Regions from separate parts of the Homo sapiens genome. Here region 1 is linked to region 2. The links are contacts of gene promoters, found by promoter capture Hi-C in human tissues and cell types (Jung and others, 2019). All regions are on one chromosome and are shown on one strand. The core of a region is centred on a gene start or on the middle of the fragment in contact, and the rest is flanking DNA. Distances in the headings are between cores, read along the strand shown.

What was found. The method cuts DNA at HindIII sites, captures the fragments that hold promoters and counts their contacts. A contact is called where the count stands out against the background at its distance.
Region 1: a contact is called between the fragment with the promoter of AP1S1 here and the fragment with the promoter of SH2B2 in region 2, in 1 of the 25 tissues and cell types used here (dorsolateral prefrontal cortex).

What each region holds. Positions count from the first base shown.
Region 1 is chr7:101,150,950-101,155,725 of GRCh38, reverse strand. It overlaps AP1S1 (adaptor related protein complex 1 subunit sigma 1), which reads right to left and starts at 1,250. Exons shown (of 5, transcript NM_001283.5): 1 at 1,209-1,250. The coding sequence starts at 1,211. RefSeq lists enhancers at 344-844, 1,164-1,458 and a silencer at 1,269-1,508. The HindIII fragment of the contact is 24,473 bases long and covers 1-4,776 here.
Region 2 is chr7:102,284,557-102,288,893 of GRCh38, reverse strand. SH2B2 (SH2B adaptor protein 2) reads right to left here and starts at 2,026. Exons shown (of 9, transcript NM_001359228.2): 1 at 1,800-2,026. RefSeq lists an enhancer at 279-368 and silencers at 1,519-2,058, 2,129-2,708. The HindIII fragment of the contact is 12,688 bases long and covers 1,374-4,337 here.

The DNA of each region.
Region 1 (4,776 bases), core at 1-2,500, 1.1 Mb after region 2:
TTAATGATCTCCCAAACATATCATCCTCCAGTGCCAGGCCTATGCCCAGGGGTATCCTCCTCTGTAGTATGTATCTCCAACACCACACAGGGTATGCAGATGCCCAAATCCTATCTTCCTCTCTGCAGGCACCCAGGCATTTGGTCTTCGACATTTCTCTTTAACTTTTCTTCCTTTTAGGGTGCCTCCTGCTAAGCGCCCACTCCTCCCCAGACACCAGGTGACCAATTTCCCTCAGTTAGGGCCCCGCCACCCAGGGGGTTCCCCTAAAAGAATGTCTGCAGAACAGACAGCAAGCTGGGTCAAGTGGGATGGAAGACAGAACCCTCACTGCCCAGTGTACCCCAGCTTCCCAGTTCCGGGGGGTCTGGGCCACATCCTGGAGTCTTCTCCTTACCCCAGTAGCTCTTCTATTCATGGACATGCCCAGGCTTGGAATCCCTGGGTGTGTGGCACTGTACTAGCTTAGTAAGTGAAAAATCAGAATTCAGGAGAACTGATTTTTTTGGTGGAGGGGAAAAGAGGGGCGCTGGGGAGCCTCGTGCGGCGCTCAAATAGGGGGGTGGGGAGCAAGCAGGAAGACGGAAGGCCTGGATTCCGGAAAGAGAATGGGAAGGGGGGCAGAGAGCCCCGGAGCCCGGGATCCCAAAGCCTGGGTCCCTCGGAGAAAAACCACGAGTCCACTTCGCTTCCCTACCTGGGCCCAGCCTCTAGGCAAGCACGGCCACGAACGCAGTAGGGCGCTCCCTTTTCCGACCCGGAAACTCCCCTCCCACACCCCTCTCCCCACCCGGGTCCCCGCTCCCGCCTGTGCAGCCCGGGAAGGGGGTCTCGGTGACTGGTGACCCCCGCTCCCTCCCTCAGCAAAGAGACTCCCGCAACCCTCTGCTTCGGGCGGCTTCCCTGCAGCGGGGATCGAGGGACCCCAGGGGCCAAGACCAGAGCGCCCCTCCCGGCTCGGGACGGCCCCGCCGCCCCTTCGTCAGCCCCCGCTCGCCCTGCAAATGCGCCCCCTCCCCGCCCCTCTCCCGAATGCCACCTCCCCCTCTTCCTCCCGAGCCCGGCTCGCCCACCCGCCGAGGCAAGGGAGGCCTCTGAGGACCAGAGGGAAGACAGGGCGGTTCACCCCGAGGGCGGCCCCCGAGGACCCCCGCAGGTGCAGCCCACGCCCCTCGCTTCCCCCTCCCCTCCCTCTTCGCACAGCCTACCATCCTGCAGCCTCCGGCTCGGCGCGTCCCACTTCGGCCACCGTAGGCGCCAGTCCCACTCCCTTTCTTATCCTTTCTCCTGCTGCCCTCCCTCTCGCCCGAAGCCCCGCCCCGTCCCGCCCAGGCTCTGACTCCCGGCGCGCCACGCACTGCGCAGGCGCCGACGCCGCGGGGAGCGCGGGCGGGGCTGGAGGCGGAGAAGCGGAAACCATGGCAACCAGGTCCTTGACTGCAGCTTCTAGGAGCCCGGTCGTCATGGTAACGCGGCTGTCCTGTGGGCTGGTTGGAGGATGGGGGAGGAGGACAATAAGGTCCTCGCGCTTTGGAGCCTTGTGGGGCAAAAAGGCGGGAAAAGGGGTGAGAGGTGAATGGGACGATCATTGGAGTTCGAAGCAGCAGGCAGGACTCCTGGAAGGGGAGTGGGCCGTGAAAAGGGAGCAGGGTGGGAATTAAGTGTAGGGGAGGAGGAGTGACCTGGAAAACAGAAAGACAAAGGGTCATGAGAAAAGTATAGAACCCAAGCTGAATATCTATTGAAAGCGTGATAGATACACCCCTCTAGTTTTTTTCTTTTTAGAGACAGGGTCTGGCCGCGTCACCCAGGTTGGAGTGCAGTGGTGGGATCGTGACTCTCTGCAGCCTTGAACTCCTGGCCTCAAGCGATCCTCCCGCCTCAGCCTCCTGAGTAGCTGGGACTACAGACGCACACCGTCATGCCCAGCTAATTTTTAATTTTTTTTTAGTAGAGACGGGGGTCTTACTATGTTGCCCAGGCTGGTCTCGAACTCTTGGGTTCAAGAGACCCTCCCGCCTCGGTTTCCCAAACTGCTGGGATTACAGGCGTGAGCCACCGCGCCTGGCTTCTGATTTTACAGTAAGAGAAATGTGTAGAAAAAGAATAAAAGAGAAAAGGAGAGGCTGCTATAAAAGGCATGTAAGGAGAAGGGGGAGGAACGTGAACTGAGGCAAAAGGGGAAGAAATAAAGAGCGTCTTAAAAGGTTAACTTGGGTCAAAACTCAAAAAGGGACAGATGTCACCCAAATCTCAGTGTGAAGATGAGGTGGATGTACGTTGTAATATGGGCTTTTAAACTGAATGTGTGTGTGTGTCTACATGTTACTGGAAAAAGGGGTCCCGATCCAGACCCCAAGAGAGAATTCTTGGATCTCATGCAGGAAGGAACCCAAAGCAAGTCGTAGAGTGCGATGAGAAGAGAGAGTTTATTGAAAGCTACACCCTTACGGAGTAGGGCGTCCTCAGAAAGCAAACAGAGGAACACACTGTCTTAAGTTTTTCTTTTCTTTCTTTCTTTTTTTTTTTCTTCTTTTTTTGAGACAGGGTCTTACTCTGTTGCCCAGGCTGGAGTGTAGTAGCATGATCATAGTTCACTGCAGCCTCCACCTCCTGAGCTCAAGCGATCCTCCCACTTCAGTCTCCCAAGTAGCTAGGACTACAGGCATGCACCACCACAGCCAGCTAATAGTTGTATGTTTTGTAGACACAGGGTATTGTCATGCTACCCAAGCTGGTCTGGGACTCCTGGACTCAAGGTATCCACACTCCTCAGCCTCCCAAAGTGTTGGGATTACAGGTATGAGCCACCGCCCCTGACCTTTAAGTTTTTCTTATATAGGGGTCTTGTTTTTGTAGAGACTAAACTAAGCCGAGTCAATGTGCAGATGGGCCAATGGCATGACAAAATTTATTATTCTGTTAATTTAACTATCCTTGACATTCTAGTAGGTAAGTACATCAAAGCAAAACTTAATTATCTTTCTTCCTTTTTTTTTTTTCTTGAGACAGAGTCTTGATCTGTTGCCCAGGCTGTAGTGCAGTGGCGTGATCTCAGCTCACTGCAACCTCCACCTCCTGGGTTCAAGCCATTCTTGTGTCTCAGCATCCCTAATAGCTGGATTACAGCTACATCCTTTCACCTCAGCCTCCCAAGTAGCTGTGACTGCAGGCATGAACCAGTGCATCCAATTAATTAAAAAAATATTTTGTTGTAGAGATGGGGTCTCACTACTGGGATTGTAGGCATGTGCTACGACACCCAGCTAATTTTTGTATCTTTAGTAGAGAGGGGGTTTTGCAATGTTGGCCAGGCTGATCTCGAACTCCTGGCCTAAAGCAATCCTGCCTTAGCCTCCACACCCAGCCAGAACTATAATTATCTTAAAGGCACATATTGTTATGGGTATTGGGGCATCTGGATTTTCTGTAGTTGGAGGAGTCTGTCCTTGCAGGTATCTTTAAGCTGTTTCCCCAACTGTAAACAGCTTTGGGTTGTGACTGACAAGGAATGTGCCTTGTTAGTTTCAAGATGGAGCTGAACTTAAAATGGCTTTATGCTGGCTCTCTGAGGCTCCTGCTTCCCTAGCACAAATGATAAAGTAAAGAGGTCTGGATAGAAGGATAAGAGAAAATCTTAAATTTTGTCATGCAGAAAAGTTAATGGTAGATAATTGTTGGCAACTAATGTGCTATTATTTTTGAGTAGCACATGATGCAATTGTTGGTAAGGCCTCACCTCCTGTCTCCACTTTATTTATTTATTTTGTGTATTTATTTTTTTGAGATGGAGTCTTGCTCTGTTGCCCAGGCTGGAGTGCAGTGGCACAATCTCGGCTCACTGCAACCTCCACCTCCCGGGTTCAAGTGATTCTCCTGATTCAGCCTCCTGACTCAGCCTTCTGTCTCAAAAAAAAAAAAAAAAAAAGAGGACAGTAGTACATATCTTGCAAGGTGGTTCTGAGGATTAGAGGTAATGTATAGCAAGTATCTGTAAACACTTCATAATGGTACCTATCATTTCCTCTTCCCAGACTCTTCCTTTTTTTTTTTTTTTTTTGTTGTTGTTGTTGTTGTTGAGACGGAGTCTCGTTCTTGTTGCCCACGCTGGAGTGCAGTGGCACGATCTCGGCTCACTGCAGCCTCCACCTCCCCGGATCAAGCAATTCTCCTTCCTCAGCCTCCCAAGTAGCTGGGACTACAGATATCTACCACCACACCCCGCTAAGTTTTATTTTTTTAGTAGAGATGGGGTTTCACCACGTTGGCCACGCTGGTCTCAAACTCCTGACCTCGAGTGATCTGCCTGCCTTGGCCTCTCAAAAGTTCTGGGATTACAGGTGTGAGCCACCGCGCCCGGGCCCAACTTCTTTCTTCTTTTACTTTTTCTTCTTCCTTTTGCTTTTGTTTTCTTTTCTCCTCTGCCTCCACCTTAGGCTTTTCAACACCATCGTCTAAGATATATGACATATACTAGTGGAATATCTTACCAGTGGCATAGATTATTGGCTGCCTGAACTATTGTGGTGCTACTTATTTATTTATTTATTTATTTTTTTTTTTTGAGACAGACTCTTGCACTGTCGCTCAGGCTGGACTGCAATGGTGTGATCTCGGCTCACTGCAACCTCCACCTCCTGGGCTCAAGTGATTTTCCTGCCTCGGCCTCCTAAGTAGCTGGGATTATAGGTGCATGCCACCACGCCCAGCTAATTTTTGTATTTTCAGTAGAGACGGGGTTTCACTATGTTGGCCAGGCTGGTCTCGAACTCCTGA
Region 2 (4,337 bases), core at 777-3,276:
GTAGGCAGGGCAAGAAGTGCCAGCCTCTTGTCAGAGAGGAGTGGTTGGGAGGCCTGGCTCGTTGACTGCGGGACTTTGGGCCAGTCACTTCCCCTCCCTAAGTGTGTGGGGATAATAATAGCACTAAACCCACAGGATTGTTGTAAAGATGACACGAACGGCGATCCTGATGCCCTTAGCTTGGCACAAGTAAGTTTGAAACCAAAAGCTCAGCCCTGGGAGGCCCAGGATCACTTGGGTGGAGATCCCACTTCCAAGACCCCCAAGGGAAGCCCACCCCTGGGTATTTGTATAGAAGTCCTCCCTAGGAGATTCACGCTAAGTAGGGAAGAGGGATTTAGAAACTTCAGACAGATTTTTCACAACAAGGGTAAAAAGAAAAGCGTGTGCATTAACCCTTGATTACCTAGAAGCATTCAACCAAGCAGCATCAGAAGCCGGCCTGCCACGGGGTGGGGCTGTTCTTGTATGTTGGTAGGACAGACCTCTAAGGAAGTAGCTGGTGGGAAACTGTCTCTGAGACCCCCAAAAATGCCCTGATCCACACTAGCCTAAAAGAAGTGCCACCACCGCCACCACCAGACCTCTCCCAAAGCTCCTGGAGCTGAAAAGTTCTAGGTCACTCTCCCAACCTCTTCCTGCGTGGAGTGGGGAGGCCAGGAGGGAAGAGGTTGGGAGAGTTCAAGGTGGGACACAGTAGTGGGGGCTTCAGCTCAAGAGGCAGTCAAAACCTCTTGGGGAAACCACACCCCCTGCCCCCAGTCCTCCCAGAGGAGCTCCAGGGACCTGACTCTGGGACGCAATTCCTGCCGGGAGTTGCCGGTCCCTTAGCCAGGAGGCAGGCAGCACCATCCCATTTTACAGGGTAGGTGATGTTGGCTCGGGGGCATTGGTAGGGCTCCACCCAGGTCTGACAGCCTAGCCTGAGGCTCTCCCTTGCACTAGCTCGAAGTGCACGTAGATCCTGGCTTATTCGTGTTCAGAGTCTCGCCTGGGGCTGCCCGGTCTGCCTTGCGTGGCTCCTGAGAGGCTCCAGTCACTGCAGACTTCCCTCCCTGAAGGCCCCCACTTCGGGGCTGCAGGGGGCCAGGATGCGTCCCTGCCTCTGCCCGGCTTCAGCCCGCTGGGCTGGCGCGGTTCCGGCCCGCGCAGCCCGCAGGTTCATCAATGGCCGAGGCCCAAGGGCCTGAATGGAGGGCACGAACCCGCCCCTTCTTAAAGGCGCCGGCCTCTTGGGCACCCTCCACGATCCTCCCGGCAATCGGGGGCTCCGGGGAGCTCCCCGGCTGGGCAGGTCGAGAAAGGGGGGCCTGGGCCAAAGGGAGGGCGTGCCTGTGGCCTGGAGGAGGTCCTCCCCGATCCCATCCCGTGGCCCTCACCCTCATTCTAGGTTGACGCCCCCTCCCAGCGCTCCCAGCGTAGGGAAGAGACCTGGGCACCCCTTCCCCCAACCAGAGACCCCTCCTCTAAGGACCCGGCTGCTCTCGCCCCACTACCCGGCCGGGGCCCTAGCAGGGGGCGGGGGCGCAGCTGCTCCAGAGGCGGCTCGGCCCCTCCAGCGGCTCCCCGCCCCGCCCGGGATGGGGATCGGGGAGCAGATCCCAGCCGGGGGCGCCTCCCCTCCCTCGCGCGCCCTCCTCCCTCCCACCCGCGCACACAAAGACGACACGCGCGGACCAAGGCGCGTGCGGCCGCTCTCCTTCGGGCAGCGGTGCGCACACAGCGCACGTCCCCGGGGACAGACAGGGGTCCCGGGGGAAGGACCAGGGAGCGAGGAACTGGGTATAAGGAGGCCATACCTACAGGCGCGCAGCTGCGGCCGAGCGGGCTGGGGCGCCGGCTGAGCGCTGCCCGGACCGCGGCCGGGCTCCCCGGGCCCGGTGGCTCATGGCCCGCGGCGGACTGGGCTCCCTCCCTCGTTCACCGCCTCGAAGGCTCCTGCGCTCCTCGCGGTCCCGGCGCGTCCCCCGCGCGGCTCTCTGGCAGCCGAGCTCCGCGCGCTCCAAGCCCAGCCCCAGCGCGGCGCGCCCCTCCGCCCGCGAGGCGCGCGCCTCCCGGCCCCGCCCCGCCCCCGCCCCCGCCGCGAGCCCCGGCCCCGCCCCCCCTCGCGCGTCCTGGCCCCGCCCCCTCCCGCCCCCACTTGCGCCGCTCAGGCCCCGCCCCCGGCCATCCGCGGAGCCCGAGCGGCGCCGGTGGCCGGTGCTTGCTGGCTCCCCGCAGCTGCGGTGCCGAGACTGCCCGGTCCTGGGGCCCGGAGAGAGGGGTTAGGAGCCGGCTCCGAGTCGCCCCATCTGGGCGGGGGTCCCCATGTCGCCGAGCCGGCCCCAGGCCAGGCGCGGGACTCCCACTCCTCCTCGTGGAGGCCACCCCTCGAGCCCGCGGTGGTGGTGGCCCCGGGAGCGCGGAGCGTGGGGCCGGGGGAATGTCCTGCGTGGCGGGTGTATGGGACGCGGACGCCCTCGAAGCGCCCCTCGCTGACGGGTGCTTCGCGGGAGCCGCCGCTGTGGCCAGACTCTCCGCAGCAGGGACAATGGGAGCCTGGAGGAGGCCTGGATGTCGCAACGGAGGAAGTCGACGCCTGGTTCTCATAAATCTCGAGGGCGCCACCACGCCCCCTCCCTGCAGCCCTCCGGTGCGGGAAATCGCCCCCGGGCCACAGGGCGGGACGGCCCCCCTGAGCGCAGTGCCCCCACCACCCAGCCTTCGCTGTGATGGGGGCCTGATGCCACCCGGAGAGGTGTCAGAGATCATAGAGGGGCGATGAGGGGCCACAACCCTGGCACCTTCCTCACCCCTGCCTGGCTCCAGAACTCGCCTGCTTTAGGGCAGAGACCAGTGGGGCTGAGGAAACAGTCCCGCTGGGCTTTGCGGGGCATTTGTAGCCTGACCCCTGGTGCTGAGGGCACAGCGCGGGGGCTCTGGGAGGCTTCCTGAAAGAGGTGCAGGGGGCTCAGCAGGCCTGGAAGGGGTCTGAGAGGGGAGGGAGGGCTTCGGTGGGGGCAGAGGTGTGGAAAGGGCCGCTCAGAGAAGAGAGTAGTCTTGCTCCTGGAGATAGCAGGGGGGGACCCCTGGGTGTCTTCTCCCCTCATCTCCCTCCTTGTCCCCTGCCCCCACCTCTGGCAGTTCTGTCCTGGTCTCCTTGCCAGCCGGAGCTGCCTCCATCTGTCGCCCTCCCGGGCCCAAACTGACCTCTGACTTTTCCCAGAGCCATTTCCCATCTCTAATTTACAGACAAGGGTTTTTATCAAACCCTTCTTAGGGATGGAAAGGTGGGGCTTCCAGAGTTGAAGGTGGAGGGGACAGAGCCTTCACCTGCTGCCCAAAACCCCGGTGCTGCCCTCCACGGGGGCACGGAAGACAGGCAGACCCCTTCCCTGCCCCACATCTCGGCTCTGTTCCCTCCGCAGGACCAGGCCAGCAGACACTTTAATGAAAGCTTCGGCAGTGGGCCAGCCCTCGATCGGAGCTGCACACAGGCCTGCACGCCTGGTTGGGAACCAGGACACCTATGAATGAGGCCGGGAAGGGGGAGGAGGGGGTGCCCGAGAGTGGGAGAAAGGGAAGCTCCATACATGGCCTGGTTGTGGTCTCCACCCTCCTGGGAGAGGGGAGAGCCTGACCCGCGGTGGACTAACCTGGTTCAGAGTAGTGGGCTGAACTCCACTGCTGGGATGATAGCGGCCAGAGAGGGTCCTGAGATGGGAAGCCATGGGCAGGACAATAGCTTGGATCCATCCCCAGGGAGGAAGAAGTGAGGAGGGGCCGGCGGCAGAGCGCCTCGGACCCACAAGGAGGAACTGATGGAGATGTGGAAGTGGCTGTGGGGGTGGAGGGGGCGTGGTTGGCCAAGAGCAGCTGTCGCCTCGCTGGGGATAGGAATGAAGGTCAGGGAGGAAAGGTCCATCCTGGGTCCCTGAGGGCAGGAGGCTTGAGGGGCTTGGAAGAAGTCCTCATGGGGGAGATGAGGGGTGCTGGGACGGGGACCCCAAAGAAAGGCCCCTGGATACACATGCTTTAGACTGTTCAGAACTAAAATGGAGACAGAGGTAGCACAGGGGACCCTGGCCTGGTGGGCTGCAGTGGGGGACCTGGGTTTGCAGCCAGTCTTGTGACAGCTGGACAATGAGTTAATGCACCCACTCCAGACCCAGAGAATGCGCTCCTCTATCTGAGGCTGGGCTGGAGGTGAGGTGGCCCAGAACCTGTGTCTCGGGGGGTTCCCATGCGAGGCTGGTGCTCAGGGAGATTGATGGGCACGGGCTTTGCAGCCCCTGGCAGGCGGGGGCCCATGGGAAAGGGGAGCACAGAAAGGGAAGCAGAGATTCCCCAGGAACTGA